6 separate regions of the Homo sapiens genome follow, and all the other regions are linked to region 5. Evidence: promoter capture Hi-C in 16 types of primary human blood cells and fetal thymus (Javierre and others, 2016). All regions are on one chromosome and are shown on one strand. Each heading gives the region's core, a stretch centred on a gene start or on the middle of the fragment in contact. The rest is flanking DNA. Distances are from core to core; before and after follow the strand shown.

Evidence for each region. The method cuts DNA at HindIII sites, captures the fragments that hold promoters and counts their contacts. A CHiCAGO score of 5 or more calls a contact.
Region 1: a fragment that was not itself captured here is called in contact with the fragment with the promoter of CXCL8 in region 5 in 4 of 17 cell types (megakaryocytes, neutrophils, endothelial precursors and 1 more); the score reaches 14.8 in megakaryocytes.
Region 2: a contact is called between a fragment that was not itself captured here and the fragment with the promoter of CXCL8 in region 5, in 1 of 17 cell types (megakaryocytes). The highest score is 5.6, in megakaryocytes.
Region 3: a contact is called between a fragment that was not itself captured here and the fragment with the promoter of CXCL8 in region 5, in 1 of 17 cell types (neutrophils). The highest score is 5.3, in neutrophils.
Region 4: a fragment that was not itself captured here is called in contact with the fragment with the promoter of CXCL8 in region 5 in 4 of 17 cell types (megakaryocytes, neutrophils, M1 macrophages and 1 more); the score reaches 9.8 in megakaryocytes.
Region 6: a contact is called between a fragment that was not itself captured here and the fragment with the promoter of CXCL8 in region 5, in 4 of 17 cell types (neutrophils, megakaryocytes, endothelial precursors and 1 more). The highest score is 15.4, in neutrophils.

The regions. Positions count from the first base shown.
Region 1 is chr4:73,918,302-73,922,469 of GRCh38, reverse strand. No RefSeq gene overlaps it. Among named protein-coding and RNA genes, the nearest start is that of CXCL1, 51 kb to the right of the region's middle. The HindIII fragment of the contact is 501 bases long and covers 1,268-1,768 here.
Region 2 is chr4:73,573,408-73,577,543 of GRCh38, reverse strand. RASSF6 (Ras association domain family member 6) reads left to right here. Exons shown (of 11, transcript NM_177532.5): 9 at 813-931; 10 at 1,037-1,134; 11 at 1,234-4,136. The coding sequence ends at 1,309. Among named protein-coding and RNA genes, the nearest start is that of RASSF6, 45 kb to the left of the region's middle. The HindIII fragment of the contact is 213 bases long and covers 1,321-1,533 here.
Region 3 is chr4:73,934,666-73,938,902 of GRCh38, reverse strand. It overlaps the pseudogene HNRNPA1P55. Among named protein-coding and RNA genes, the nearest start is that of PF4, 45 kb to the left of the region's middle. The HindIII fragment of the contact is 2,446 bases long and covers 353-2,798 here.
Region 4 is chr4:73,898,177-73,902,471 of GRCh38, reverse strand. No RefSeq gene overlaps it. Among named protein-coding and RNA genes, the nearest start is that of CXCL1, 31 kb to the right of the region's middle. The HindIII fragment of the contact is 802 bases long and covers 914-1,715 here.
Region 5 is chr4:73,738,756-73,743,079 of GRCh38, reverse strand. It overlaps CXCL8 (C-X-C motif chemokine ligand 8), which reads right to left and starts at 2,511. Exons shown (of 4, transcript NM_000584.4): 1 at 2,358-2,511; 2 at 1,403-1,538; 3 at 1,048-1,131; 4 at 1-631. The coding sequence starts at 2,421. The coding sequence ends at 616. RefSeq lists a silencer at 3,754-4,048. The HindIII fragment of the contact is 2,023 bases long and covers 2,483-4,324 here.
Region 6 is chr4:73,868,797-73,872,973 of GRCh38, reverse strand. CXCL1 (C-X-C motif chemokine ligand 1) reads right to left here and starts at 3,581. Exons shown (of 4, transcript NM_001511.4): 1 at 3,404-3,581; 2 at 3,182-3,305; 3 at 2,985-3,068; 4 at 1,666-2,453. The coding sequence starts at 3,503. The coding sequence ends at 2,438. The HindIII fragment of the contact is 416 bases long and covers 2,629-3,044 here.

The DNA of each region.
Region 1 (4,168 bases), core at 269-2,768, 180 kb before region 5:
TATCTTGAAACAGCACAGCCTGGAATTTAGTAGGGTGTTCTGAGTATACCTTAGCAAAAAATATAGAAAACTATGATTTTTGAGTGAGTTCATAGATTTTTAAAAGTAAATGAGAGAGGCTTGATTTGATTGTGCACTGTCTACTATGAATTTTATATTTGTCTCAGGGAAAGGAAGCAGAAATGGCACAATTGTTGAACTTAGTAATCTTCAAAAAAGTCTCTTCTGCTTCTGCCTGGTAAATAAGAAGGTAAAGGGCCGGGCGCGGTGGCTCACGCCTGTAATCCCAGCACTTTGGGAGGCCGAGGCGGGTGGATCATGAGATCAGGAGATCGAGACCATCCTGGCTAACAAGGTGAAACCCCGTCTCTACTAAAAATACAAAAAATTAGCCGGGCGCGGTGGCGGGCGCCTGTAGTCCCAGCTACTCGGGAGGCTGAGGCAGGAGAATGGCGTGAACCCGGGACGCGGAGCTTGCAGTGAGCCGAGATTGCGCCACTGCAGTCCGCAGTCCGGCCTGGGCGACAGAGCGAGACTCCGTCTCAAAAAAAAAAAAAAAAAAAAAAAAAAAAGAAGGTAAAATTAGACAATCTAATTGTAGTGTAGATAAATCACAATTCATAATCAATTCTGACTCATTATGCTCAGAATTTCCAGCACATTATTTAGCACAAATTATTAAGATTCTATTGCCTATTCATTTATGGCAAGGATTTTTACAACTAGCCATCAAGACCAAGGTCTTAGACAACATTTGTAACACTAAATGTAGAATGCAGGTCTCCATGCATTTTAAAGAAAAATGTTTAATGCTTATTTTCCAAGATAAATGTGTTATTAAGACATGGAAACATTCATCAAGAATGTTGTTTATAACTGAAACATTTCAAGGTGGATCCAAATGCAGTATTTATACCTGACCTTTTGAAACTTGCCAAAAGCTACATTATACTTTTAAAGACTAAAGATTGAAAAAAGAGTGCCAAAAGTGATTAGTTATATACGTACATACACACATACATACCATGCATACCAATATACATATACACTAGATACTCTGCTAAATAATTTTTATATATTATTGCATCTAATTTTAACATTGATTTTATAGTACAAGTACTATTATTATCCCTATTATCTTAGATGAGGAAATCAAGACTTGATATGCTAGATTAGTCTTGTCTGAAATATTTGCCAATATACTATTTGATTATGAAATAATTGATATATGCAAAAGAAACTTACCAAAGATGTAAAGAATAAAGCTTAATAAAAGGCATAATAAAAACAAACACCCATGCATATCGTGAACATTGGAACTAGACTTTTACCAATATTATTGAATCTTATGTGCTTTTCCACTATTCTGTCCCTCTGCCTCCAACCAGAGTTAATTACAATCCTAAATTTTGATATATTCTTTGAGTAAGAAGTGTAGCTATTTTCTAAAACCATCCTAATTATTGATTTATTTGTGGCACTTATTTAGCATTCATAAAACTACATGGATGTTTTGGCAGTCATAGATTTAATACAAATACTGTTAACATAATTCCTGGATTTTATACTTTCTCTTAGAATTTAGCAGCTGGCATGGTGGTTTTAATTTAGTAGTTAATCACGATTTTATAACATTCATTTACTTAGTACTGAATCATAAAAAAATATTGAATTTGGCATTATTGAAACATTTTAGTTTTCCTAAAATTGACCAAAAGTTCAGATAAATATCGAAATATTTTAGTTTTCCTACAATTTTCCAAAAGCTTGGATTGAACAAGGGTAACATCAAATATGTTTTTCCATAAATTTTTGCCACTTTATTATGTTGTCAATGGGAATGTTGAAAACCAGTAAACCCAAAAAACTTTTTCTGCTATTTATATCTCAGAACCAGCAGATTGTAGAAATCTCTTTCAGCTTTTACTTTGGTTACTCTTGCAATATGCCTGCTATTTGCAGGCACTGGCATATTATATGATTCAATATTTTCCATTTGAATTGTTGATAAAATTGAAAAGATGGCCCTTATCAATCCCGGATCAAACATTTATTGAACATCTACTAAGTGCTAGAAAATACTCAAAGTTGGATCTTCTAATATGAAAAGAAAAACTCCAGGAAGTCAGGACACAAAATTAAAAAGACATACATGAATCTGCCCATTTTAAAATTAATTTAATAAAGCACTTACAAAAACAAATGGAATTCAGGACATAATGAAGTCTTAAAGGAGTTTTTGTAGGCATTGTGATTGTCTGGGATTCTGGATCATGATTCTTTGTATCAGGAAGCTACTGCATTGAGCAGGTGTCAGTAGAGTAGTGAATGCTGGGCACCTGCATGTTACTCTTTCCCATGTCATCCCTTATAGCCGAGAATGTCCATATGCTGATTTATACAAGTATACAGTCCTTCGATGAAGGCTTGAGAGCAACTGAAGGGAAAATGTGAGGCGAGCCTGGAATAGCTTTTTATTCCAGAAGGTAAGGGAGTGCTCAGAAACTCAGAAACAGGAGTCAGCTTGAAGGAATGCTCCTCTTGGGGAAGAGGAGATGTGAGTGAATAGGTTAGGAGACTGAGGAAGTTAGCCAAGTAGATATCTGGTGGAAGGGGATTCCAGGCAAAATAAATAGCCACAAAATAGAAGCACAGCTGCTGTGGGTTTAAGGAACAGTAAAGAGCCCATGGTGGCTGGGGTGAGTGAGCAAGGGAAACAACACTGTTGAAAATGCTATCAAGGAGGGAATAGGGAGCCTCGGGAGGTAAGGCCTGTGACCCATCTCTAAGGATTTGGATGTTAACTCAGAGTGAGAGGAGAACCAATGGGGGATTTTGAACAGAGCAGAATCATAGTTTGACTTACATTTTGTAAAGATTGCACTGGCAAGTGTGTTAAGAATAGACATAGAAGAGCTTAAAGATACCAGTTAGGAGCCTTTTGCAATGATTCAGGTGACTGAAGATGGTGGCTCAACCCAGGGGGGTAGCAGTGAAAGTGGTTATGAAGGTAGAACCAACAAGATTTTTTGTTGGATTGGATGTAGAGTGTGGGAGAAAGAGAAGAGTTGAGGATGACTTTTAAGTTGGCCTATAATAATATTTTAGGCAACAGATACATAGATAGAGAAAACAGAGCTGGAGTGGTCAGGTTGGATCCAAAAGAAATTGAGAAATGAAATTTATTAGAATTGGAGATAAAATTTTTATCTTAAATTTAAGTTCAGGTATTTACCAGTTTAGGAAAAACCTTATAAAACATTCTACCTTTATTTTTAAAGCCTCCCAAAATCAATCGCCTCCTGCAAGTAAACTTGAAGTAGCTGTCTCATTTCTCTCGCTCTGAATCATCAATTTCTTCTGTGCATTTATTAATGTCTTACATAGTACTTATAAAAGATAAGTATTAGAGGATATAAATCCTAATGTTTTAAATATTTTTGTTGGTAAGTATGAAAGACAGGGAAAATGAGCTCAAGAACTCCTTGGTGTGTGTGTGCGAGTGCATGTGTGTTTAGTAATATATAGTTTTTTTCTTTTCTAGTTCCTTTTAATTGGTCTCTTTTTCTCTTTTTCCATTTGGGACACAGACTTGACTGGGAAAACTGGGATAAATCGATAGGGATGTTCTCTTATCTTCATACTAACCTGGAGATACTTTTGTAAGAGTTTATCAGGAAAAATTGCAAAGTCAACAACTGTCAAACAGTTTTTCTTTTTGTCAGCTTTCACCTTCATTCCCAAGCTGTTTTGCCTCCTCCTCATTCTTGTATCTCTGGAACCTAGAGCTTTGTCACTTCTCTCTGGAAGACCAGAGACTGTCATGCAGATCCACGTCATCTTCAAAATGAAAATTATTCCTCACGCCCCATGCCCAATCCCCTTCCATATCAGTGCTGAAAACAAAATAAGTTATTAATCTGTTTATAGCACTTGACCCTAAGATACTAATGAATGAGCCAAAGATTTATCAAAGAACTTCAAAGAGAATTTGTACAACAAAATGCTATCTCTAATAGAAAAGTAAGTGGAGTTATATTCTTATTACAGACTACCTCTTAACAACACCCAGAAAACACACATACACAGACTGAGAAAACACACACACACACACACTCCCACGCATCCCTATAGAATCATTTGCTGCCATACCGCCCCTTCCTTCTCT
Region 2 (4,136 bases), core at 178-2,677, 160 kb after region 5:
GGATAAGTCCAGCTCAGGGAATGAGAACAGTTCTCACTGTTCTGAAGAAAGTAAGCAAGGTGAAGGAGAGAATGAGGAAATAAGATGAATATAAGGACACTATGTTTTGTTCATGCTTTATTCTGATAAAAATGAAATCCCAGATGTGAAACTACTTTGACAGAAAGCTATAAGTACTTTTGTAGCAGGAGTATTTATATTATAACTTTTGGAAATTTGAAGTTCTGGAAACACACCAGATTGGAAGATATTTTCTTTCTCTATCTCATTTTCATGGCTGAATGGATTAAGCCCAGATGAATGAATAATAAGAATATTATTGATCTCAAAAACCTCATGAATATATTTTTAAAGATGAGCCAAGAATTGGGTGTGGAGCGAGACAAAGGAAGAATTGAAAATAATTACATGGTTTTGGACCTGAAGAACCAGAAAGATGGAATTACATCAACTCAACTTGGAAAGAACCAATAAATATTTGTTGTATGGATGAAGGAATGGTGGAATGAAACCTAAATAATTATTGAGGCATATTGCTTTATAAAAGGCCTATCAGACCGGAGATTTGTTTGAACACTCTAATCAAAGGAAGGCTGAGTTCTTTGAGACATTAATCAAAACTTGAGATACAGTAAGAGAAAGAAGTTCATTTAAGTTTTAATTTCAATTTGCTTTTTTGAGTAATTGCCTCCTGTTGCAGGTGTTATTTTTTTCAAAGTGAGTTAAATACGAAAAATAAATTGGAAAATTATCTTCCTTCTTTTCCTGCAGCATGAACTTCTGATTGTGGTTGATTCTTGTTTTCACTGCAGAACAAAGACGACTAAAGAAGACAGACATTCCGCTACTGCAGAGGCTCCTACAGGGACCTTCTGAAAAGAATGCTCGCATTTTCCTCATGGATAAAGATGCAGAAGAAATTAGCAGTGATGTATGAATACCATCACCCTGAATCTGTTTTTTGCTTCCCTCCTGACTCAGCACCTCTTGCATAATTGTTCTGCTTTCTTTTTTTTTTCTTCTTCTTCTTTCTTAGGTGGCTCAGTACATTAACTTTCACTTTTCTCTCTTGGAATCCATTCTTCAAAGATTAAATGAAGAAGAGAAAAGAGAGATTCAAAGAATAGTAACAAAGTAAGTCAAGAGCATGCACATTGGATACTCCGTTCTTTAATATGTCCAATGCACAAAATATGTCCAATTTTTAATAGTCTTTCTTCTTCTCATTTTCAGATTCAATAAAGAAAAGGCGATTATACTGAAATGTCTTCAAAATAAACTAGTAATAAAAACAGAGACAACAGTTTAGCAGTACAAGCTTCTATTGCTAAAACATTTCAAAAAACTCAGAGATATTACTCTTTGATGAATGCATAAGTTCTGTACTTGCATTTATACGAACATATATGAGACTTGAATCGTAGAAAATTGAATGTCAAAAAAAGCTCATTTCTTTTTGAAGTGATGAGGTTAATTAGGGTTCACAGTTGGACAAAATGAGTTTGAGTTTAGTTTCAGTAACTGAAATAAGCTTGAATACTGCATATGCCAAATAGCTTTTATAGTAAACCATGTAATGAACTCAAATTTAAATGGTGTCTTCAGATAAGCAGTTTAAACTTCATTTAGCTTGGACTCTCAAGAGAACTGAAACATAATCAATGGATTCAGAAATGACTCAGAAAAAAGAAGCTGCCAGTTCTTGGAATGAAAAAGAAATACAGTCTTACACCATCAAGGAATCTACCTGATAGTGACAGTAGCTTCTTGAAAACTCTGGCATTTTCATAAAATCTAGGACTATCTTAAATGGCCTGTTGACTTCTGACTATCTGTAACATCAGAGCTGTCTGGCCTTTGGAAAGGAAAAATTATGGACTCTGTTAAGAAATCCTAATTGAAATTTTCTGAACCTCCCCCCAGCCCTTTTATTCTCTCTCTTCTGCTGATGAAAGACCTTTCATCAGTTCAAAGCTTTTCTTAAGCTCTTTTTTAAGTTAATTGAACTTTTTCTTTATTTATTTTTCAAAAAAATGTTTATATCACATAGACATATTACATCGGCTAAAGTAAGACTTGGCCCACAAATACCTATTTGTTGCTGAATGAATACAATGGATAAAGCAAGGCTGTTGTAGCTGAAGTTACATAGGGAATCCCAAACTCTGCCCTCTTAGCATCTTATTCTACATGACAACTCTCAAGGTACTCACAGATCTGTTTAACCCACTTGAAAAAAAAACACTAAAAATGAAGAAATGCTATAAGTATAAACTATGATTTTATTTATAAATTCTGTATTAAAATGGAATTATATGCAACATTCTTTCATTCTGTAAACTAATTCCATTTGCATTCCTCATAAGCATTGTAGTAAATTGATCATATTACATGTACTAAGGAATGAGATTATATGCAGTAAACCCAACTGGAAGATTAACAATATTAAAATATGAAACATTTTTAAGACAAAGGCATTACTTCTCAGTATTACCAAACCTAAACTGGTTGAAGGTGAAAGTGTGCTATGGCCTTTTCAAGCCTAAGAAGTCTCTCTTACTGAGTAAACCAGAGGCTTGCATCGCTATTCTTTCACCTGTCAATATTAATAAGAAAATAGTCTCATCTCACTTAAATGAGGCAAATGTAATAGTTAAAATTCAACATACTTATAAAAAACTAGTGTCATGTACCTGCCATGAACATGACAAAAGGTTAGTCTTCAATAGACTGAAATGTATAAGAGAAGAACCAAGTCTTACATAGAAAAAAAAGGTAGATATGAAAAGAAAAATCACAGAAGAGAGAATGCAAATGGCCACTAAGTATATGAAAAAAGTCGTATCTTAACAGTGAACAACTGTGTTAGTCTGTATCAATCAGAAGACAGAAACAAGGTAGTAATTTAAACAGGGAAAGTTTAATATAAATAATAATTAAGCTATGATAGGAGAATAATAATAAAGATGAAAAGAGAAGGTACCCTAAGGCTGAGGGAAAGAATCCTAACAAGGAAAGGCAGGAATGAGGGTTTCAGAATTCACTGGAGAAGGTGTGGTTGCAGCCCACTGGAGAGAAGTTTGCTGGCTTGCCCAGGCCAGAGCAGGACCACAGATACTGGACAAGCTGGTACAGCCAACCCCCTAGGTGTGGACCAGCTGAGGCAGGTGGGCAGATATGCAGAGGGACTTGGGGCTTTGCCAAAGGGTAAGCACAAAGAAGGAGTCACGGGTTCTGTTCGAGGCACTGTTGGGATTAGGAGCCGGAGGGACCTACTTTGCAGGAACCTAGCATAACTTTGTGTGACGAGACTGCACAAGACAAAGCTCAGGCAAGTGGCTCAGTAGTTGGCCAGCCCAGCAGGGTCCTCTGTATGAGTGTGCACCCAGCTGAAGAGAAGAAATGGAGAGCAGCAATTGGAGCTTCAGGACCGGCTTGCACTGTGGCTCCAGGTTATACCACCACTGCCCAAAGCAAAAGCTAGAGAAGCAAGTGGAGAAATGCTGGAGAAAGCTGCACCCTACAGGCAACCAGCACTGCAGAAACCACTCCAGGCAAAGTAGTGAAGGAAAAAAGCCTGCTCTCCAGTAGCCTGGCCTGTCAGCCTGGAGGAATCAGGAAAGACCCCTTCCTCTTGCAGTGTGTCTCCAGCGCCCTCTACTGACAAAGTATGCCATCATGCAAGCTGCAAAGGAAACATTTCAAGAGTCTATATCTATTTTCACGGAGCGGGCAACCAACAGTGAATGTGGAGCTGAGAGACAGTAAAATAATAACTGACATGCCACCGAAGTACAAAGTAAAATAAATAAATAAATACACATTTTGGCCTATTAGCAAAGATTAAGAAATGATAACATTAAATACTCAATAAATCACCATGAGATGGGGACTCAAACTTCTGGTAAAAATACAAATAGATATAATTTTTCTTGAAGGCAATTTAGTAGTCTGTTTATCCTATAATTCTACTTGTAAGATCCTATCATATGAAAATAACCAGAGATACAAAGACATTCTGCAAAGATATGTTTTATATTGTTATTTATTGTGACAAAAGGAAATAAAAAGCCTAAATGTTCAGAAAATTATTTTAAAAGATGAAAGAGGGAAATAGGCCATGGACGGTGGCTCAC
Region 3 (4,237 bases), core at 326-2,825, 200 kb before region 5:
TCAGGGGTCATAGTAGCTTTGGTGGCAGCCACGGTGGTAGTGGATATGGTGGCAGTGGGGATGACTATAGTGGATTTGGTAATGATGGAAGCAATTTTGGAGGTGGTGGAAGCTACAATGATTTTGGCAATTACAGCAATCAGTCTTCAAATTTTGGACCCATGAAGGGAGGAAACTTTGGAGGTGGAAGCTCTGACCCCTATGGGGGTGGAGGCCAATACTTGGCCAAACCACAAAACCAAGGTGGCTATGGCGGTTCCAGTAGCAGCAGTAGCTATGGCAATGGCAGAAGATTTTAATTAGGGAACAAAGCTTAGCTGGAGAGGAGAGCCAGAGAAGTGACAGGGAAGCTTCAGGTTATAACAGATTTGTGAACTCAGTCAAGCACAGTGGTGGCAAGGTCTAGCTGCTACAAAGAAGACATGTTTTAGACAAATACTCATGTGTATGGGCAAAAATAGGACTGTATTTGTGACTAACTGTATAACAGGTTATTTTAGTTTCTGTTCTGTGCAAAGTGTAAAGCATTCCAACAAAGGGTTTTAATGTAGATTTTTTTTTGCACCCATGCTGTTGATTGCTAAATGTAATAGTCTGATCATGACGCTGAATAAATGTCTTTTTTTTAAAAAAAATCCTAAATTAATGTGAAGTTAGATAATATTTTTTAAGACACTTTTATCTCATGTTTGTATACTTATTTTCTATTATCATCATGATAGCACTGATAACACACAATTTGATCATTTCTACCTTGTGCATAGAGAATAATGACTCAAAGAGATTAAGATAGTGTCTGATCCTGGCTAACATGGTGAAACTCTGCCTCTATTAAAAATACAAGAAATTAGCCAGGCGTGGTGGCAGGTGCCTGTAGTCCCTTGGGAGACTGAGGCAGGAGGATGGCTTGAAACCGGGAGACGGAGCTTGCAGTGAGCTGAGATTGCTCCATTGCACCCCAGCCTGGGCGACAGAGTGACTCTGTCTCAAAAACAAAACAAAACAAAAGATAGTGTCTGAATAGTGTTTCTGATTCATTGAGTTTTTGCTTGACATAAAGACCAAGAAGTCAGCAATCAGTGGAATGTTAAAAAGTCATTCAATCATATTGTATGTTGAGACTTTTCTTTCATATGCCATTTTCTGTCTCAAAACTTTACCTCTTGGAGTATGCTTCTGTTTGCAATGTCCTTCAGGTTTTTCTCTGTATGCTGAGCTTTTATGCATTTTTTTTGATACAACTCAGTGATATCTTCCACGTGAAAGCAAATGAGATACTCTGATTTTTGAAGCTATGTATAAAGTGGCACTGTATCTACAATTCTATTAATTATTGCTTTAAAGGGTTTGATATGTTGATAAAGGAAAAAATGCATTCAGTATAATGTAACCAAGGTCATTTAACAGAATAATAAACAGAATTTGAGTTCATACTCCATTTTTAGTAATTCAGTTTTAAGAGCTGTGAAGCTGAATATACTGCTCCTGACTGCAATAAGTTAATTTATTCTGAATTCTATTTCCTTAATAGCCTATCAATAGATGGAAGATTCCATTAATACCTTAAATATGATCATTCAAATTGACATAAAATGAAAACATAAGTTAAAGCATATTAATTTCCTGCTTAGTACTAACTTGGATTTTAAAAAGATACAGACTTTTTTATGACAGCACATTTTAAATAATTATTAACTGCAGATGTCATTGGATCCTTCAAAATTGCATAGTTCCACCTCCAGGAAATAAAAAGGCAAACAGTTCATATCTTTATCAACAGATTTATTACATTCTACACTTCCCATTCCTCCCAAATAAAACAAACTGGAAAACTAAATTCTACTTTCTTATTGGCTTGTAACTGACAAACATCACTTTGATAAGTTTCTCCTTTCATTCTTCAACAAAAAGGGAGAAGACAACAAAATTGCTCTTGAGATTGTGGTGGCTGAGAAACACTATAGTCCTGAGTCTACCAAGGTCTGAAATCAGAAATGTCTACTGAGATCTCACATTCTTTGGCTATCTGCCCTTACAAAGTTTGTCCTTTTCTTTCATCCATTTAACATTACATAAAAGAGAAACCAGGTCTAAAGAGATGTTTTTTGGCTTTAAGCAAAACAAAAGCTGTGAAATATCTAAAATTAAACTAGGACATGCATGCAGTTTGTCAAGTGTCAAAGAAGCCCAGATAGAGGCAGAACAAATTTATTTAACTTGAAATTCTGATTAAAGGGTCTGTACTTCTCTTTCTGAAGGGTAAAGGGGAGATGATGGTAGTAATATTATTTCAAGTCAATCTAGGGTGTTTATTTTAATATTAGTTAGCAGATGGAATTATTACATTCAACTGAAATCTTACATCAAATTATACCGATAAATTTTCGCTGGACTCAAGCAGTTCTTTTATACTTATGTAGTTATGGTTTTGATTACAATTACAACCTTAAGGAGTGGATATTTGCTCTTTTATGCCTAACACTATTTCATAGTAGCAGCTCAATAAATTCATATTGATTATGATATTGGCAAATAATTGGTATTCTGTGATTTCTCCATGACTATTTCTATTAATGTTGAATTCTTAATCCAATATTGTGGCCAGCTACATTGATTTGAAATAGTAAATTAAGGGTTAGGCAATATGGCTGTCTTTATCTTCATTCAGATTTTTCTGTACTTACCTCACATAGCTGATGCTTCTGAGAGCTAAGAGTTGCAATATCAATATATTTGGAATATGATTTTTTAAATTTTTTTCTATACTCATTAAAAATGTCCAGTTGATACTTGAAGCTTCTTGCTGTAGCTGAAAAGAAATAATGTAAGTAGGAATTATGAGGGGAAAGTAATAGTCTCTAGTAGTAGTTTTCAGAGATGAAGTTCTTGCAAAATTTACCAGACTAACAATATAGGAGACAAGGGTTTGGGCATTATTCTTACATGGTGAAGGAAAAAAATCACTATCTTCAAGATTCTATTCTAGTAACTTCTTCTTCTTCAAAAAAAAGTATCTGACATTGGAGCATGAGTAAGGCATAAACTGAAATGTGTAGATTGATTTTTGAAGTCAATGAACATCTATAATAAGCAATGACACATACTAGCATTAAAAATACTTTGATAATGCTAGATTATTGGGAAGTCTTTTATATACTTGGACAAAGAACATTCAAAAGTTGCAATATAATGTAGCAGGTTTAAAAAGTTTTTTAAGTTGCACAATATGTCATAGATGTATAAGATTGTATAGAAACATATACTATATAAAAACATGAATAGATGTTTTATATAAATAATATTTAATATTAAAGATTGTATAAAACATGTATATGCATATGTATACTATTTGCATGTGTGCCTATATACATATATACACACAGACAAAGGTTTAGGAAGAGTAACAAAATAAACCACTATGCCCATTTCCATGTTTAAGATATGAACATTAGCAGGATACTGGAAGTACTCTCTGTACCCATTCCAAATCTCATCTTTCTCCTTTCCTGTCACACTCCTTGCACCTTAACCCTTAACTTGAACTCAGTGTCAGTCATTCCCACTTATTGTAGTGCTTAACATCTATAAGTAAAATCCTAAACAATTGATTATTAATTTTATTTGTTTTGAACTTTGGAAAAATGAGCTGATGCTACACAGATATGACCTAATTTTGTCATTTAGGAACTTGTTTGTGAATTTCATATAGGATGATTTATTTCAGTCAATGACTGCTATTACATTTTGTGGCAACACAAATACTTATCTGGTCCACTGCTGTGTGGAAATTTGAGTTGCTTACAGTTTTGCTAATACTAGTAACATAGCTCTCAACATTTTTTGTGCTGAGCCCTGGGTATATAAGTCCTAGAGATACTTTAGGATATATATGTAGGAGTGGAATTACTGGCTCATATGGCATGCATATATTCAACTTTACCAAATCATAAAAAATTATTTTTAAAATGATTGTACTCATTTACCACACCCACTAGCAATTCATGAAAGTTTCTTTCCTCCACTCACTGGCCATCCCTTGAAATTTTCAGACTTCTGAAATTGTTGCTAAATGACTCTATAATGGTATCATATAGTGATTTTAATTTGCTTTTTTCCTTATTATAAATGAAGGTGAATATCTTTTCACATTTATGAACCATTTGTAGTTGGTCCTCTGTGAAACTTCTGTTTCTTTTGTCCACTTGTTCTGTTGTGCTATTAGCCTTTTCATAAAAGC
Region 4 (4,295 bases), core at 65-2,564, 160 kb before region 5:
TATGAGCAATAGCCAAGCCTGAAGATACTTAAGAAGCAAGTCACTTGATAGAAGTTGTGAATAGGATAAGTTTCTCCAGAAACGGAAAAGTGTCATGTATCAGAAGTTCAGGAAAATAGAATTTTAAAAACTTGGGATGACAATGAAATCTAGTAGAAAAATTATTTTAAAGAAAGTAATTTTAGGTTAATTCTACACTAAATAAATCTAAGAAATGAGATCAGTCAAGCAGACTCATCTTACTTGCCTGACTCATCTTATTTGTCATCTGTACCATCTGTAATAGACAATTGCCTCAACTCTCCTTAAAGTGTGCTGACCAGCTAAAAACTTAAATCACAATTGTAATAGCTAATATCTTTAAATATTTAATATGTCCCAAGATTCTATTTCATCTGCTTTGTAAAGGTTATGATAATACTTAATCATTGCATTAGTGTAATGATTTGGGAACTATCAAGGAAAAGGTGGCTCAGAATTTTTTCTTTTTTTTTGAGAGAGTCTAGCTCTGTCGCCCAGGGGCTAGAGTGCAGTGGCACAATCTCAGCTCACTGCAACCTCCGATTCCCAGGTTCAAACGATTATCCTGTCTCAGCCTCCTGAGTAGCTGGGAGTACAGGCACCCTCCATCATGCACGGCTAAATTTTGTATTTTTTAGTAGAGATGGGGTTTCACCATGTTGACCAGGCTGGTCTTGAAATTCTGACCACAGGTGATCCACCCGCCTCGGCCTCCCAAAGTGCTGGGATTACAGGCATGAGCCACTGCGCCCAGCTGGAACTTTTAAATGACTTACTCAAGGCTATAACAGCTCACAAATGGTGGAGCCAGGGTTTGAACTCAGCAATCACTATTCCTAAACCAGTTTTCTTAAAAACTATGTCATCAAGACTCCCAGATATGAAGAAAGCTTGTTCACTTAGGTGGTCAAATTCTGTGTGTTTTGATGTGAAAAAAGAAAATCCCTCTCTCCACATTAATGCATATCCTGTCCCCTGCCAAGCCTACTATAATCATCCCTTGTATTTTCAGCCCTCACTGCCTCTCTGTTGGATGGTCCTTCTCTCCTTAATTTTTCATGTTCTATCCAGTTGGAAAAGTTGCACAATGGCTCACACGCTCATCAGCGGTCTGTGGCTAATTTTGGTTAGCTGTTAGTCGGGGGTCAAACAGCAAGAGGTTTGGCAAGTGAAGGGATTGGGTTAGTTTGGTTTTGTCCTTCTCGGCCTGAACCCACAACTCATGATTCACAACAGTGCTTCTCTGTTTTCAATCTTCTGCTTGCAACTAAAATGGGATTCTCATCAGTCTTGGTTAGACTAGATATGCCCAGGTTGAGGTTGCATGTGACTTTTTAATCTCTCAGAGCAGATGTGAGAGAGAGTTAGAGAAAAAAAAAGGCATGTGTGAGGAGGGGGGCATTCAACTTCTATTACGTGTTTACTGTGTTCCAGTCTAGGTTCTTTATGCAAATTATTTCAGGTAATCTTCACAGCAACATTTTACTGTGGGAAGCATTATAATTGTCTCAAGAGGAAACAGGTGCTCCTAAATTTTAGAAAAAATATGCCCAAATTTACACTGCTTTGAAGTGACAGAATAAAAATTTATATCAGTTTTACCTGGTTATAATGTCTGTGTTTTTTGTACTACATCAATGTTGCGATAAAGGACAAAACTAATTCAGAGGTAAAAAATTATAGAATTTCAAGCTTTTAGAATAAATCCTTTTTGATAATGAAAATTCTCATCTTGTGAGTGATCAGTAGATGCTAGGCTCTTTGCTGAGCACTTTGCATGTATTGTGTAATTTAATTCCTCACAATTCTATAAAATAGGCACTGTTATTATTTCTAATTTACAGAGAAAAAAAAGGGTTAGAACAATTAAGAAACAATTTATCTGCGATTGGGCACGAGATAATCTGTTTCCAGGTCCCTTGTTCCTGTATCTACACTGCCCTTTTTAGCCTAGCTCAAACTAGATGTTTCTGTTTTCTTAATTTGTTTCCATTTCTCTCCAAGGTATATATATATATATATATGTGTGTGTGTGTGTGTGTGTGTGTGTGTGTGTAAACGTTTATGTATCCCTATTAAATGTCAAACATTATTTTAAACTCTTGACATGAATTACTCAATTTAATGCTCACAACAGTTCTATGAAATAGCTATCATTATCATTCCTATTTAATGATGAGAAAGTTAAGGCACAGGGTGGGTAAACCAATTGCTCAACATCACACAGGCATCAGGGGCAGGATTTACTCTGGAAACCCTGCATCTATGCTTATAAGTTCAGCTGCCACTTAACTGTGTATGCTGCCTCCAGGGCACTCTTTCTGAAACTCAGATCCAGTCACATCTATCCCCTCTTAAGGATCTGCACTAGTTTCCCATTATTTATTAAACAAATTCAAATATATGTTGCTTGACATTTGAGGTTCTTCACAATTTGTCTCTCTTTTAACATTCTATTTTCATTTATCTATTGATTAGCTACTTCACCCACTCTGGACTATTTGCCACCCCTAAACTAGCCAATCACACTGAGCTATTTATGACTTTTCTCATAGACTGTGTATTAGTTCATTCTCATGCTGCTAATAAAGACATACCTGAGACTGGATAATTTATAAAGGAAAGAGGTTTAATGAACCTACAGTGCCACATGACTGTGGAGGCCTCACAATCATGGCAGAAGGCAAAGAGTGAGGCACATCTTACATAGCAGCAGGCAAGAGAGTGTGTGCAAGGGAACTCCCATTTATAAAACCATCAGATCTCATGAGACTTATTCACTATCATGAGAATAGCACAGGAAAGATCCACCCCCATGATTCAATTACCTCTCATTGGGTCCCTCCCATGATACACAGGAATATGGGAGCTACGATTCAAGATGAGATTTGGGTGGAGACACAGCCAAACCATATCAGACCGGAAGGTTCTTCTTTGTTTATAAAATCAATATTCAAGTTCTCTCAGATGGCTCTGTTCCCACAACCTTTCCCCATTCTCTTGGCAGAGAACAGTCCCCACCTTCTTCAGCACTTATTTATATGCAGATAATATCACATCTTTCTCTCTATTTTGCACTAAACTGTGATGTTTGCTCCCCTCCGATCCACAATAGACTCTGAATCTCTTGAGATCAAGGGCTGTGTTTCATGAACATCCTCAAAGTGCCTGAAATTTAGTGCAGGTTGTTGATATTCGATGAACATTGCTGAATGAATGAGAATACAAGTAAGTGAATGAAAGTATTAACCATGTTTTTATCTCTAAGGGGGAAAAAAGTACAAGTTCTAAGTGTTTATTGAACTAAACTAACTTTTAGGGTATATAAAATTTATATATATGAACATAATTTCTGTATTACCTACATGTTTCAGACAAGAGTGCAGCAATACAAAATTCAGATCCTAGTGAATGACGACAACACCAAGTCAGGCTAGTTCAACAATGGCATGTCTAAACACCCAGCTGACCTTCCTGGGTAAGTGTAACTTTCAGGTCTTCTGTTTAAATAAGTTCTTCCTAGTTGTCCATCTTCCTTTCCTTCCTGCTGGTTGGACATAGTGGCGATGGAGCTACTGTAGAAGCCGCAGTGAAGAATGGCAGAACCACCATTGTAGCCTGGGACTCTGGATGACTTTACAGAGCAAAACCTGACTACCTACTCTGGACTGTTAAGTGAAAGAGAAATAAACTTATGTCTTGTTTAGTCACTGAACTTTAGAGTCTATTTGTTAACCATCATCCCAACCAATATACCCTGAAACATTTCTACCAGTAGTAAATCTTGCTAGAACTGTATTTCAGGACTCAGCTTAAACATTCCATCCTCCTACCCTCTAGATCAAAACAATTTTCCTTGATACATCCTATCTTAGGACCCAGCTCTTTTCTCTTTTAAAGTTTAATCCTCACAATACTCTCTAGGGAGTGTCTCTCTCCCTCTCTAGATTGGAAGCTCCATGCACACATGGACAGAGGCCACTTATCCACTAGCACTAACACATTGCCTGGCACATAGCTGACTCATAAAAAAAAGTCCAGTAAGCACAGTTAATAATATTACTAATTATTTATTATAAATTGTATTATTATATTATTAATTACATTAATCATAACAATCATGATTGATATATTATTATGCCTACTGATTAGAAATATAATTGATATAATATTAATTATAAATAATATAGTATATGTAGTGTAGACATTATATTAATTATAAATAATGTAATTAATAGCAGTTATTAGGGTAATAACCACCACCCCCTAAATAT
Region 5 (4,324 bases), core at 1,262-3,761:
TATGATGAAAAAACTTAAAGTGCTTCCACATGTCCTCACAACATCACTGTGAGGTAAGATGGTGGCTAATACTTTTTCCACTTAGAAATAAAGGAGAAACCAAGGCACAGTGGAACAAGGACTTGTGGATCCTGGCTAGCAGACTAGGGTTGCCAGATTTAACAGAAAAAAATCCAGGATTTCCAGCTAAATTTGACTTTATGGCAAAATTTATTGTCCCATCATTTTTATGTGATGCTTCAAATATCACATTCTAGCAAACCCATTCAATTCCTGAAATTAAAGTTCGGATATTCTCTTGGCCCTTGGCCTCAATTTTGCTATTTGTATATTCTCCCGTGCAATATCTAGGAAAATCCTTATATTTAAAAATTATTTGTTGTTTTTTGTAGATTCAAATAAATAATACTTTACATATAAGTATGTTCTGGATATTTCATGGTACAATGAAAAACTATTCATTGTTTACTGAAATTCAAATTTAACCAGGAATCTTGTATTGCATCTGGCAACCCTACAACAGACCCACACAATACATGAAGTGTTGAAGTAGATTTGCTTGAAGTTTCACTGGCATCTTCACTGATTCTTGGATACCACAGAGAATGAATTTTTTTATGAATTCTCAGCCCTAAAATAAAATTAAAAATATAAAGATGAGCTATGTTTAATAAGAAGGAAAGTAGGGTTCTTGAAAAGTCAATATAGTCTTTGACATTCATGTGTTAGAAATGCTCTATATTCTCAACTATAAATAGGGAGATCAAAGAAATTATCATCTAAAATAGGACACTACTGGGAGTGACAAAGAACTTTACTAAGAGTATAGGACACAAGCTTAAACCCAGAATTTCCTGGGCAAACTATGTATGGTCTTTCTGGTCATGAGTACAACAAACTCACTATTGATGCTATTCCTTTTTTTTTTAACCAAAAAGGCAGATACCTAATGACGATTTTTAGCAACAGAAAGAAATTTATAGGCTGACTTTGGATTATATGTCTCAGGATAAATGAAAAATTTAAATTAAAAAATATATAACTTACCTCTTCAAAAACTTCTCCACAACCCTCTGCACCCAGTTTTCCTTGGGGTCCAGACAGAGCTCTCTTCCATCAGAAAGCTTTACACTGAAATAAGAAAGAAATGGTTCAGATTAATATTTAGTTTTTGCATTCAAATCATGATTCCTTAAGTCAGGCATAAAGTCTAAGTCCAAAATAACATTTATAGTAGTTGTGGAAGCTACCATATTTAAATGTCATGTAGACAAATATTTTTATTTTGTTTTGTTTCATTTACTACTGTAATCCTAACACCTGGAACTTTCCTAAATATTTCCACCTTCCTTAATTTTAAGTTTGCTAAAACAAAATATCTAATCTTTTTTAAAGTACTTACATAATTTCTGTGTTGGCGCAGTGTGGTCCACTCTCAATCACTCTCAGTTCTTTGATAAATTTGGGGTGGAAAGGTTTGGAGTATGTCTTTATGCACTGACATCTAAGTTCTTTAGCACTCCTTGGCAAAACTGCACCTGTTGGGGGAAAAAGTGATTAAGGATTGATTTTATCAACAGGCACAGCTCTGCCAGCTACTTCCTTTCTAATTCCAATATGATTATTTGGAGACTATGGAAGGCATCATGTTTCTAGTGAACTCATTCCTGAATATTCTCCTAGCCCTTGACCTCAGTTAGTTCTTTGTTTTAAAAAACAGTCATAACTGACAACATTGAACGACTTCCTATATAAAGAGTTAGAGTTCTTTTTGTACAATATCAACATCTTCATGGTATTTTTATCTGGTCAATATTGCATAATCCTCTGTGATACCACAGTGTTATTTATAGTAGGCAAGCTAAGACTCTCCAGCATAGAAATTGCCTTCAGAAAGAATTAACAGAAATATATAAATAAGTTATACATGCCTGGTCTATAATCAGGGTATCTTTAAACCAGACAGGAATTAATGACAAATCTGAGGCTTGTCAATGAAATACTACAAGGAGTGGAATTGTCTGAGTTACCTTGCTCAACTCAATATTAATACATAATATAGGTAACCGTGGTTCTCAATAGGACATACTATAAATTACTTATTTACGTTAAATATATGCATGCTACATGGTATAAATTATAAAAGCAGAATATCTATATTGATCAAACTTTATACTTTCCTAAGTGTTATATATAGTTTTTTCTAAATCTTCAATTTAACATTAATTGACTGCTAAGATTATATTCTGTTTCTGAATAAAAAGGATGTTTGTTACCAAAGCATCAAGAATAGCTTTGCTATCTAAGGATCACATTTAGACATAGGAAAACGCTGTAGGTCAGAAAGATGTGCTTACCTTCACACAGAGCTGCAGAAATCAGGAAGGCTGCCAAGAGAGCCACGGCCAGCTTGGAAGTCATGTTTACACACAGTGAGATGGTTCCTTCCGGTGGTTTCTTCCTGGCTCTTGTCCTAGAAGCTTGTGTGCTCTGCTGTCTCTGAAAGTTTGTGCCTTATGGAGTGCTCCGGTGGCTTTTTATATCATCACCCTACTAGAGAACTTATGCACCCTCATCTTTTCATTATGTCAGAGGAAATTCCACGATTTGCAACTGATGGCCCATCCCCTCAGGGCAAACCTGAGTCATCACACTTCCTATTTGTTCCTTATCAAATACGGAGTATGACGAAAGTTTTCTTTGATCTTTAAAATAATTTAATTTTAATATACATTTAAAATACTGAAGCTCCACAATTTGGTGAATTATCAATTGTATGCTTTTTTATTTCTAGATAACTTTATCATAGTACCATGTGACAGATATAGTACTAGAGTGGCAGGTGTTAGAACAAGATCATGGATGATTTTCTTTTAATGGCATAATTATTTTTTTTCAGTTAATTACAGATGCTATCATGATGGTGAAGATAAGCCAGCCAATCATTTTATTGGGGAGGTAATTTAAAATAAATCTTTTTCTAAGCATTTTAGAGAGTTTCTAGGAACTGTTACTGCTCTTAGGGGGCATACTACAACTTTTCAAAAGATTTAGTTTTCTAATGCATGTTAACAGAGTGAAGGGGCACATGTGCTTCACATAGAAATCAGTTCCACAAACATTTATGGAGTAACTTTCTGAGTAATGTGGGGGATCTAGAAATAGATAAGACTAGGTACTTGTCCTTAAAGAGTTTGGTCTATCAGAAGAAGAAAGCAATGTAAGGACTGACTATATAGCAGAATAGACAAGTGGTACTAAGACATTAATTCCAGTGGAGGCATAAGAGCAGAATCTTCCAAAGGCAGTTGGAGCAAGGCATTGAGGAATAGGAGGGCTTCAATAGAGGAAGATGAAAGAGAACAGCACATTCCAGATAGGAACAGTATTCAAGGCCACTCAAGTTGTAAAGTTAAGGTATGTTTATGCTCCAGAAAGTGGTGCACTGGAGCTGCTTGGTTGGGGTGGGAGGGAGGTGTTATCTAATGGAAAGTTGTATGCTTAGTGGAAAGAGCATCTGGGTTCCAACTCTGGTTCAGCCACTGTTGCTTCATGCTCTTTATCCAAGGACACCAAGTCTGACCTCTGAGGACCCATGATCACTAGCAAAAGGGATGGAGTGAGAAATTTCAACAAATCATAAAAAGGTGGCTTTATGTCCTAGTGTCCTGAAGAAAAGAATCCAAGACCTTTCTTGAAAGGTCTTGGATTCTGTAGATAAAGAGCACCAAGGAAGGGTTCTTATGATAGTAAAAGTCTGTTCGCTTCTGGGCAAGTACATAATTTATAAATAATTCACCTTGGTGTAACAGTTCTTCATTTTCAGAAAGTACGACAGAGCAGTGAATTTGCCCACACTGTGAACACACTGTGGAGGGGGAATGCCATTTTCAAATGCTTTCCAAAAAGGTTTGTCTGTTTCTGCACAATCATGTTTCTTTTTGTTATCTTTCTCCAACCAACCTAAGACTTGAGGATAAAATAATGCCTGGGTTACACTGAATTCTATAGCAAAGTAAATGTTTATTCTATATAATGTAGCTCCTATAGTTTTCAACTGTAGTATTTCAGAAACTTCATTATTCATTTAATATGTGTTGTTTATCTGCTAATGTCCCTTATTGTAGGAGATGTGAATGCTATGTAAATAGATATAGTACCTGACTTAAAGGACTTTGTTGTCTAGTGCAGAATATGGAAAATTAGTTACACAAGTAAGTAAAATACAGTGATGAGTGTTACAATAACAGGTAATTACAGGAAGTTCTGGAATCAAACAAACATGATCTTTGAGGCAGTTTTGATGAATGAAGGTTTTCTGAAG
Region 6 (4,177 bases), core at 1,587-4,086, 130 kb before region 5:
CCTGTGACTACCACGCCAAAAACGCTGTATCCTACTTCCTGCTATAACACTCCCAACAGGAGACTGCCTTGTACTTGCAAGTTTTCAGAGCAATTTGGTGTGAAAACACAATTTACATATCTGCTTGATCTAAGACTGAGACTGAGACCATGTCCATGGAGTTGGCCTGAGGACCAATGGCAAGAACCAGGTTTCCAGAGCCTCCATAACATTTAATTCTTACAACACTTCAGAAGGCTAATTTTATTATCCTCATCCTATAGAAAGGAAAATGAGGTTGAGTGAAGTAAAGAAACTTGCCCAAGATCACAGTGACAGAGCTGGAATTTACACCAAAGTCAATCTGATCCTTTGAAATCTGTCTTTAACCACCATGTGAATAAAAGCATCTCTTTTGTCCTTTTTATGTTCCCTGTTCCATATTAGCCAGAGCTAGGTAGCCAGTACAGCAAGCTCCAATGTTTGAGGGTAAGGACTTGTCTTAGGTGTAAGGAGTGGTTTTATTGAACCCTTGGATGCTACTTGTAAACATTTTCCAGTGTCCTCTAACTTGGGGTTAGGGAGTGAATGCTACCATTTATGGAGTTTCTCAAATGGTTTGCATTTATTTGCTTATGTATAGTTTACAAATATTCTTCTTCCTCATCTCATTCATAATTAACTAATAATGTTGGAATTATGAAGAGATTCTTGTTTTTAACTTTTTTAGTTGTGAGAAAAGCTCACAGAGTTTGTTTCTTGTTGCTTATGACCTCTATTTGCCCAGCTTCTTGGGATGATCCAGAATTTGATTTGAAGTATTGAGGCTGCCAGTCTCACCTTCTTGCCTCTGTTAGAGGCAGTTACCCAGGGCTCAGGATTTCTGAATGAGTTCTGAATCAGAAACAAGCACACACCTCATGCATGCACGAACATCCTTCCTTTTCAGGTTTGGAGTGTGGTTTCTTTTATATTATTGGGGTATTTCTTCCTTAGACATGCCAATTTTGCTTCTGTCCTAAAAACCTGTAGTGCTGCTGCTGTTCTGGGACAGCATTGAATACAGAGTTCCCCAGAAGGCAACCGCTCTATGAGGTCCCATCAAAATTCCACTAGGAACGATGCAAATGAATGCAGTCCAATCTTAAAACCATTATAGTTGGTATATTGCTATAAAGGATTGAAACACCGCAAATCTTAGTGCTAATTACTTATATGTGAAGGCTAGAAAGCTGAGCCCAAATTTCAATCAGATCTTTTCACAGGTGAAGCATTCAGCCACTCACTTTTGCTTCTATTGACGACACAAATGATTTGAGTTTTGAAAAACGAAATATTTTAGCCACCATTTCACTGCCAGCTTCATTAAATTGTCAACAATTATGAGAAATATTGTTCAACAAAAGCAATGAAATGAGAGCCCTTGTTAAGATAATATAAATATTTTTAAGGAGGTAAATTTGAGTAGCAAGACAGAAAGAAACTTCTTATAAAAAGGGCAATTTATATCAGTGACTCTCCCATTAGGGGCCAGCCCATAGTTTAGTAAAGCGCATTCTTCACTAGGTGAGAGCCAAGGGTATTGGCAGCAATCACCGCATGAAATGAAGCATAACTCATAGTTTGATTTATCTGTATAGCAAATTGAACACCCAGAAAAATAAACACAATTAAAAAATTGAGAAATATTGATATAAATCACCAGATTTTCCAGTAAAGGTAGCCCTTGTTTCCCCCCAAAAATCAAACGAGTTTTTTCTATAAGTGCTTTATTTTTATATTCTCTATGAAAACATCAATAATTAAGCCCCTTTGTTCTAAGCCAGAAACACTGTAAAACTACCATTAAACAAGGCAGTATGCCTTACAAGAAAGACATAAAATGTCCAAGGGATATTTAGAACATTTTAGTTCTTAAAGTTTCAACATGAGAAATGTTGACCACACACTGTGAAATCATTTCAATAAATAACAACTGACATTCATCTAAACAGTTACAAAACAGATGTGCACATACATTCCCCTGCCTTCACAATGATCTCATTGGCCATTTGCTTGGATCCGCCAGCCTCTATCACAGTGGCTGGCATGTTGCAGGCTCCTCAGAAATATTAACATAATGACTGGAGAACATTTGAAAACATTCTACCTTCAAATTAAATATGAATCCAGATTGAACTAACTTGGGGTTGACATTTCAAAAAGAATGAATATAATAGGACAGTGTGCAGGTAGAGTTAATCATACCCTTAATTATTTTACACCTAAAATATTAACATAGAATCTTCAAAACTAATGAATAAATAAATAAATAGAAGACTTCTCCTAAGCGATGCTCAAACACATTAGGCACAATCCAGGTGGCCTCTGCAGCTGTGTCTCTCTTTCCTCTTCTGTTCCTATAAGGGCAGGGCCTCCTTCAGGAACAGCCACCAGTGAGCTTCCTCCTCCCTTCTGGTCAGTTGGATTTGTCACTGCAATGAGAAAATGGGTGCCCTGAGTAGGTGCTCGGGAAAGCTGATTGCACAACACTCTTCTCCTGCCCTGCTCCTCCAGCCTCTAGAGTTTTCCGAATGCAGTTTCCCCAGCCTGGCAACCAAGTGGCTACTGCCTATGACAGCTGTGCTGTGTGGCAGGGACCTCTAAGCTTGGGATGCTCTTTTAGGAATGGGGGTGGGGTGGGGCGGTGGTCTCCACTGTACTATTGGATTAAAAACAGCCAGAACCTGTTGCTGTTTGTCCTACTGGGCCTCAAATGAAGGCAGTTTTACCTACATTCATTGGAACGAAGGAAGAACCAGGGTGGGGACGCCAGGCATTGGGAATATCCTCTGGCACCAGAGCAGTAATTATCGTAAAGGAAACCTTAATTGTGAAAACAATAATCCCAATTTCTAGTCCTTCAACTAACCCCTGGGTTTTCCTGATTTTATTTTTAGGGGGCACATGCCAGTATTTCTGACCAACGGCTCCAGTCGCCTGTGTACATGGAAACCATAACTCACCTGTTCAGCATCTTTTCGATGATTTTCTTAACTATGGGGGATGCAGGATTGAGGCAAGCTTTCCGCCCATTCTTGAGTGTGGCTCTGCAGAGGGAAGGGAATCTCGTGAGGCAGGAGGTCGGGCTGGGGACAGGGTTGGGGCAGCAGGAGGGTCTGGGACCCCGGCGGTGGCAGAGGCAGCGCGGGGCGGGACTTACATGACTTCGGTTTGGGCGCAGTGGGGTCCGGGGGACTTCACGTTCACACTTTGGATGTTCTTGGGGTGAATTCCCTGCAGGGTCTGCAAGCACTGGCAGCGCAGTTCAGTGGCCACGGACGCTCCTAGGGAAGAAGAGACTCACTGACTGAGCGAGGCTGTCGGCGCTGGGTGCCTACCCCAGCCGCGTCCGGCCCGGGGACCCCAGGGCGCCGGTACCCACCTGCTGCGCGCCGGCCAGCGGCTACCAGGAGCAGGAGCAGCAGTGCCACTCGCAGGAGCCGGGGATTGCTGGGGGCGGCGGAGAGAGCAGCGCGGGCCATGGGGCTCAGCAGGCGGGTCTGGCGGCTGTGAGAGGAGCGGAAGAGCTGGCGAGGAGGTGCCTGCGGCCCGGGCTCTGTGGCTCTCCGAGATCCGCGAACCCCTTTTATGCATGGTTGGGGCTGGAAAGCCCGGAGCCCCCGGGCCAGGGAAATTCCCGGAGTTCCAGATCGATCCCGAGTCCGGAAGGAAGGCGACGGCCCCGCCCCCAGGGTGGAGCGCTTGGGGTGCGGGTGGGGTGTGGGGGTCCACTGATGCAGCCCGCGCCTCGCCCTTCAGAGTAACTCCTGTGGACTCTGAGACTCTGGGATATTCGCCTTCTGCCCCAGATCCCTGGAGGGGGGCTGAGTGGCAGCCTGCGCTGAAGATACCACCTGAGAGGTGGGATCTTGGGTGCCTGGTGATCCCAGTGTGTGGGGCTGGGAACGGAGAAGGAGCTGGGGCGGATCCCTGAGAACCACCACAGAGAAGGCGCGACCTCTTTGGAGGAAGAGCGTTGTGTCTCGGATTTGTGGCTGGAGATTGAGAGAAATTAACAAGGTGCTGGGAGATAGGCTGGAGCTATATTATCCTCTCTGCCTCAGCCTTTCTTATTTTCAGTTTAGCCTATTTCACGTACATCTAACATCAGTGCTGTCTGTGAAAGTACAGTCCATTATGTCAGATTCCAGAGAAG